Regions from separate parts of the Homo sapiens genome. Here region 2 is linked to region 1. Evidence: promoter capture Hi-C in 16 types of primary human blood cells and fetal thymus (Javierre and others, 2016). All regions are on one chromosome and are shown on one strand. Each heading gives the region's core, a stretch centred on a gene start or on the middle of the fragment in contact. The rest is flanking DNA. Distances are from core to core; before and after follow the strand shown.

What was found. The method cuts DNA at HindIII sites, captures the fragments that hold promoters and counts their contacts. A CHiCAGO score of 5 or more calls a contact.
Region 2: a fragment that was not itself captured here is called in contact with the fragment with the promoter of OR6C3 in region 1 in 2 of 17 cell types (neutrophils and total B cells); the score reaches 8.8 in neutrophils.

The regions. Positions count from the first base shown.
Region 1 is chr12:55,328,796-55,332,223 of GRCh38, reverse strand. OR6C3 (olfactory receptor family 6 subfamily C member 3) reads right to left here and starts at 1,478. Exons shown (of 2, transcript NM_001388498.1): 1 at 1,417-1,478; 2 at 1-567. The coding sequence starts at 523. The HindIII fragment of the contact is 8,486 bases long and covers 1-3,428 here.
Region 2 is chr12:55,580,779-55,584,306 of GRCh38, reverse strand. It overlaps the pseudogene ATMINP2. Among named protein-coding and RNA genes, the nearest start is that of OR2AP1, 10 kb to the right of the region's middle. The HindIII fragment of the contact is 2,465 bases long and covers 749-3,213 here.

The DNA.
Region 1 (3,428 bases), core at 229-2,728:
CAAAGTGATCAATGACGTTGGAAGCACAGTAATCCAGCTGGAGGAGAAGCATAAGGGGTGGGAAAATGGTCAGAAACCCACTTAGCCAGGCACACAGCACAAGTAGAGTGCAGAGTTTCCTGTTCATGATGGATGTGTAATGAAGGGGCTTGCAGATGGCAACATAGCGGTCATAGGACATGGCAGTTAAAATGTAAAATTCAGTCACCCCCATGAAGATAAAGAAAAAGAGTTGGGCTGCACAGTTGTTATAGGAAATAGTCTTATTCCTGGTGATAATTGCCCCCAGAAATCTGGGGATGCATACGGTTGTAAATGAGATTTCTAAGAAAGAGAAGTTCCGGAGGAAGAAATACATAGGTGTCTGCAGATGGGAGTCCACAAAGGTTAGGGTGATGATAGTCAGGTTTCCAGTAACACTTAATATATACGTGATAAATAAAAAGAGAAAAATCACAATCTGAAGGTCAGGATCATCAGAAAGGCCCAGGAGGACAAACTCTGTGACCATTGTGTGGTTCATGTCTCGTCCTTTCTCTCTCTCCTTCTTCCACTCTCCTTTTTGTTCTTTTAAAGATATTTTGGTAGAATGATAATTAAGGAAAATAGATAAAAGATATAATTCATCATGATCCATATAATTATCAATACAATTCTAAAAATCTTCTACAGTCTGACAGTTTTGACTATCTTGTTTGCATTATGTTTTAATATTTTTTTCTAAGTCCAGCCTATTTACTAGTTCTCTTACTTTAAATCTAACAGAAATTAGGATATCTTCAGACAATAAGCCACATCACTGAGAAACAGCTAATAAAATGTATAATACCTGCTTTGTGTCCCATTAATGCAAAATATCATTATCTTTTTTGTTGAAACAATCACATGAAACATACATTTTTCTTTTTTTCATCATGTATACATTAAAGGATATTACCACCTAAACATAAAATGGGTGCTCTTAACTTCATCAAAAGATAAAAGTGAAAATTAGAAGATTGTTAATAACCCATTATTCTTTTTATGATATGAGAAACCAATTAAAGATTTTTAGCAAATAAAACATATATTTATATTAAAATAATGTTATTTTATTTATTCATTTTATTTTTAATATTAATATTTTGGTCTAATTGTCAAGATAATAGAACATCTTATATATGATGTATATTTACTATAAGATAGAGTAAATAATGTAATTATTTTACTCAACAAATAGGGAACATGTTCGCTTACTTATTGGTTTGTCTTATAATTCCATCAAAATCTTTAATGTTTGATGTCTTCTATGACTCACAAGAAATGTGTATATATATTCTACATACAGACATTTTAATTTTGAGCTTAAGGGAACATGTGATATTTATCTATTTTTCATTTTGCTCTGAAGCATAAATTGGAAAAGTAACTACTTGCCTTAGATCTCAGCAACTCTCTCACTTGGATTATAGCTTAGTGCATCTTCCATTTGAACATCTTCCTTTCAGAGCTTTACGGAAAAAGTTTTATTTCCTAGTAAATTTTGTCCCACATAAGACCATTCTTCCTTATGCAACCATTCATTCATAAGGATATCCAGAATTGTATAGGAAACCCTCTCACATTCATTCTAACCTAGTCAGTTAATTTTCAGCTATTCAAGAACTGCTGGATGTTCTATTCTATAGATGTTGTCTGCTAAAATCCTGATAGTTGTCTCCTCCATATTTTAGATTGTCAAATTTCTGCTATGATGGATAGAATGTAAAATTATTGCTTCTCTTCTGGACACTACCAAAGTTCACACTAATCAAATTTTATTTTATGTTTTTCTCTATTTTATAATGGTTTAAGGGATATATTTCAGGAAATAAAAATGGAATGCCAGAAACCTTTGGAAGATGTGGAAATACATTATATTCCTCTTCAATAATGTTGAACTAGAAGTTCAAAAAAAATTTATTCCTCTTCAATAATGTTGAGCTAGAAGTTAAAAAAAAATTTAAAGAGAAAATAGGTAAATATATGACACATTGGATATTATGAGTTAGATTCTGGTATCTGGGTTCCCCCTGGTCATACTTATATCTACAATATTTCAAGTTTCTTTGTTTTGACCTCAAAAGATTTGATCTCCTGGGAACAAAGCAAAGTCCAGGCCACATCTCTGCTGTATTATAGACCATGAAAGATTTCTGGAAGTCGCCTTTGGATTTCTCAGTAGCCTCCTAACTCTTATCTGTAGTCGATCTCCCTTGAGAGCAGTTAGGTTCATCTTTTAGCCCACAGAGGACCTCAAATATTGTCTTCTGTGGAATATTTACTTCCATTAACTGCAATTAATATATTATGCATACTTAATATTTCATAAGTAATAAAAATAGCTATGACATCTATTTTCTTACAAAACTAAAGCTCAATCTAATTGATATTTAAGCATCTTTTTGAGATTAAAAAAGTTTTCTACATATCCCATTTTTGTTTTTTATACTTAGGCTTTGTTAAGTGTTAGGGCATCAAGAAGCAAAAGGTTATTTCATAATGCTAAGTAAAGAATAACTATCATAATGCAAGTATTGTGCTCACAAGTTTTTTAAAAATGCTATCAGGTTAACTAATTCAATTATCATTATAAATTGCAATATTTAATTGCAGTGTCAATTTGTCCATCTTATTGTTTATCTTGGCCTTTACATCTGTTATCCCTTCAACATTCTAATAAAAAGACCCACAAAATATGATTTTATTTATGTGAAATTCTGGTTTGTGAATTATAACTAATTATTCTCTTTAGTGTTCTTTTTATGTTTCCCAAATATTTTGGCAAAAAAAAGTGTAATCAGATAAGCCATTTATTTAACATATAATTTATTTAAACTAATAGTGCATATTATATAATACAGATTAACACAAAATAAGCATTATGTTTTAATAAAATTATGAAATATGTATTTAATGTATAAAAATACAATAAATTTATACAATCAAATAATGTTTTATTTTTTCTTTTCCAGCTTTATTGGGGTATAATTTAGAAATCAAAAATAGTATATACTTAAGATGTATTTTACTCTTATAAAGGAGCATTTAATAAAGGAACATTTTGGCAGATATGTTTCCATATCATAGGGAGTGTTACCCTTAATCACTTAATTTTTGTTGATCACTTTTCTGGCTATTATAAAAATGATGTTATGTTTTCATTATAACAGCTCAATTAATAAGCAGGAAATTCTATCATTATTCATGGAGGGAAAAGTGCAATAATGCCTTGCTTGATTGCATCCTTGTCATATTGATATCCTGTTGTTGCTATTTAGATGTAAAGGCTTAATTGAGGTTTAGGTTTAGGTTTTTTTTTCCTTTCAAAACTAATCCAAAAAGGAATTTTATACTTTCAACAGAGATACATGTTTAATTGATTAAAAAAATAATTAGCAGCTATTGGT
Region 2 (3,528 bases), core at 732-3,231, 250 kb before region 1:
GAGCTTAGTTTAAAATCACAGAACTAAAATCCGGGAAGGAATAATCAGGAATCTTTTGATTTCACATGACAGCAACCCAAGCCAAACTATCTTAAGTGAAGACAGAAATTTATAATTCACATAATGTATAAGTCCAGCAGTAACTGGTTTCAGGTGTTACTAGATCTAGAATACAGGGACTCAAACATAGTTACTCTCTCCCCATTTTCTTCTTTTAAGGTTGGTGTTTTTCTTGAGACAGATTTTTTCACTTGGAAGACAGTAGACAGTCTCCAATATATAGTCCTTGAAATCTATGATCCAGAAAGCATGGCACCATCTCTCTTTTCTTTCAAGTCTAAATCAAAAAGGTCATAAGGTCCATCTTGGTTCATATGCTTAACTCTGACTCAATCTTTTAGCTAGGGGAATGTGGTATCATAATTGAATGGGCCAGTTTGTATGTTTATCAATGACGTCAAATAAGGAGAGATGAGTGGATTGACAGTTCCATCAGAAATCCAAGACTGGAGCAGGGTGAAATATTTATCAGAGAAAGGGAGATGCTAACACAAACAAAAATGACAGCTATTGATAAAAGGAAGTTAATTGAATCAGGCAAGAACTGCAGGGGAACATTACTTTGTGAGAAATTGCCAAAGCCAAAGGCCTTGAGAGGGAGAATATGTGTGGAATAAAGAGTGAGTGATATGGGCATAAGTGGGGAGGGGTAACAGTTTGTGCTGAATCAACTTTTGATGTACAAGCTTCTGTTATATAATAATGAGACCCTTTTCATATATAGGATCAGACCAGTCAGAGGCACTAAATATGCACAGTATGAACCTGGTACTAGGCAGTCTAGAGGTGGATGACCTAGGTGGGCACAGTTTTAGCCCATCAAATTTATGATGATGCTACATTGTGAGCATGTATATATTCTGGGAGTAATTAGATCTATGCTATCAGAGACTTCACATCCAAAAGGTCCAAAAAGATGCAGGAAGCTCCTATGAAGAAGAAATAACTTTATGCAAAGCTGTGAAAGTTCTAGAATTTCCCTGCATTTTCTCATGCAAAGAATTGTTCACCCACAGTTCAAGCCAATAAATATTTAAATAATTAATAAGCCAGTTATAATCTATATAATCTCTTCCTTTTGGGTATTTATTTGCAATTATTCTTGACAGTTTTAGAAAAGAAAGCAAAACAAGGAATTGCTGGTGTAGACACTGAATTTCCATGAATTTTAACTACTGTTGATACTCTTCCTATTTTTAAGTTCTTAGAAATTTTATTGAAATTGTGATAATTTTCCAAAATTGCAGGAAGAACTAAATGTTATGACAGTCTGAATTTTTACTAGTGATATTTTTATGATTTTCTATATTTTTGGGAAAGGACAAACATAACATTGGTGTGGGAACTTAACATGAAATAAAGTATTATGGCTAGTAGGATTAGATAGCTGCCTCACTGTCCAGCTCCATCCAGACAATACTTGAATTATGGTACAGGCCTAACATGCCTAGTATCTATGGCATGTCAAACTGGAGACAGTATTTTCCAAGAATATTATGTTCTGTGGAGTTTTCTTTGTCACAAAGGAGGCTATATCATAATATTTTGGAGGAAGTATATATGATTTCATCAAATGCTACACATTTGATGAAAATGGTCACCAAGATTCTTTATTGAGATATTTAAAGTAGAGAAATGTTGTCTCCTTGTGTGTTAAATAAAGTAAAATAAATTAGAGAAACGTACAAAGAAATTTTTATACTCTTGCCTTTACTCTACTCAGGATTGAGGTTACAATGTTTTTCATATTTGTCTTTTTCTAAATTAAAGGAACATAGCATAGCAGATATAGTTGGAATATCTTTCACTAACTGACTCACAGATAATCATAGTTCAGATCAGAGAGTAGTATAGATGATCAGCCTCTGTGGCTGTATGGGAACCTTGACAGCAGTGCTGGCGGCTGGCCCCCTGGCCATCCTGGCAGCCACAAGGGAAGTCAAGGCTGCCTCAAGCCTGTGGGGGCCTCTGGGACCCCAGCTGAGGGACAGCAGCCTGCAGCCTGATGCCATCAGCCTGGGAGCTGATCCAGCAGTTGGTGATCAAGCTGTCCCAGGCAGTGTGGACCAATAACCTGCACACAGTGCTTGGCTGTGCAAGATCCTGCCCAGCAGCCCCACGCTCAGCATGTTCTTGGTCAACAGCCACTGCCTGTAGGATGGAATAGTAGACCCAACAATAATAAATGGTTTGGTGATTCCTGGAAGACCTAAAGGCAGAAATGCTGTTCAACCCAGCAATCCCATTACTGGGTATATATCCAGAGCAATATAAATCATTCTCTTATAAAGACACATGCATGCGTATGCTCATTGCAGCACTATTCACAATAGGAAAGACATGGAATTAACCTAAATGCCCTTCAATGATAGGCTGGATAAAGAAAATGTGGTACATATACACCATGGAATACTATGCAGCCATAAAAAAGAAAAAAATCATGTCTTTTGCAGGGACATGGATGGAGCTGGAGGCCATTATATTTAGCAAATTTACTCAGGAACAGAAAACCAAATACTGCATGTTCTCACAGGTGGAAGCTAAATGAGGAGAACACATGGATACATAGAAAGGAACAACATACACTGGGGCCTACTGGAGGGTGGAGAGGGAGGAGGGAGAGGATCAGAAACAATAACTAATGGGTATCAGGCTTAATACTTGGGTGATGAAATCTGTACAACAAACTCCCATGACACAAGTTTACCTAAGTTGCAGACTTGCACTTATATCTCTCAACTTAAAAGTTAAAAAAAAGAAAAAGAAATGGTTTGATAACCCGTACTGAAATTTTACTGTTGTCCAGTTGATGGATGCCCTGGACGCTCTCACAAACCATTTTCTCAATTTTCTCTCGTAAAGCAACACTTTATGAAAATGCATGCTGAGAACATAAATGTAGTAATGAGACTTGAAGAGACACTCGGACTGTGGCAAGATCTTTGAGTGCACATGTGTCTGTCCCTATGCCAGTGGAATGGTATTACAGTCAGACGTTTACTAAACTGGCCATGGTCCCTGCAGAATACAGGGATCTACCTATTAGAAAAGGAAAATGTAAAACAGTCTATAAAACTAGAGGGGGTCCAATAAGACCATTGAATCACTAAACAACCAACCAACTTCTAGACAGACACTCAAGAACCAGAAGCTTCAGAAATAAAAACAGTAGCTTTTTTTTTTAAAAGAATCTTGAAGCTCTAATGCCAGAAAGCAGACTCTTACAACACCTCTGAAGTAGCCTTAGAAGTTGCATTTACCACAGCCCAAAGTGGTTCTTGTTAAATTACGTGTGATGCAGTTTTCTCCTATGCTTGTCATTGAGCCTGCAACTGACTCCCTGGCTGAACCCGTGGTGTGAGGTATCGATCAGGCTTCTGCCACAGAGTCTGTGCACCTACCGCCTTGTCAATAGGAACCCTGATCCATGCCCTAGATTCAGAGGCTTGCTCTCCTAAGAAGAGACTG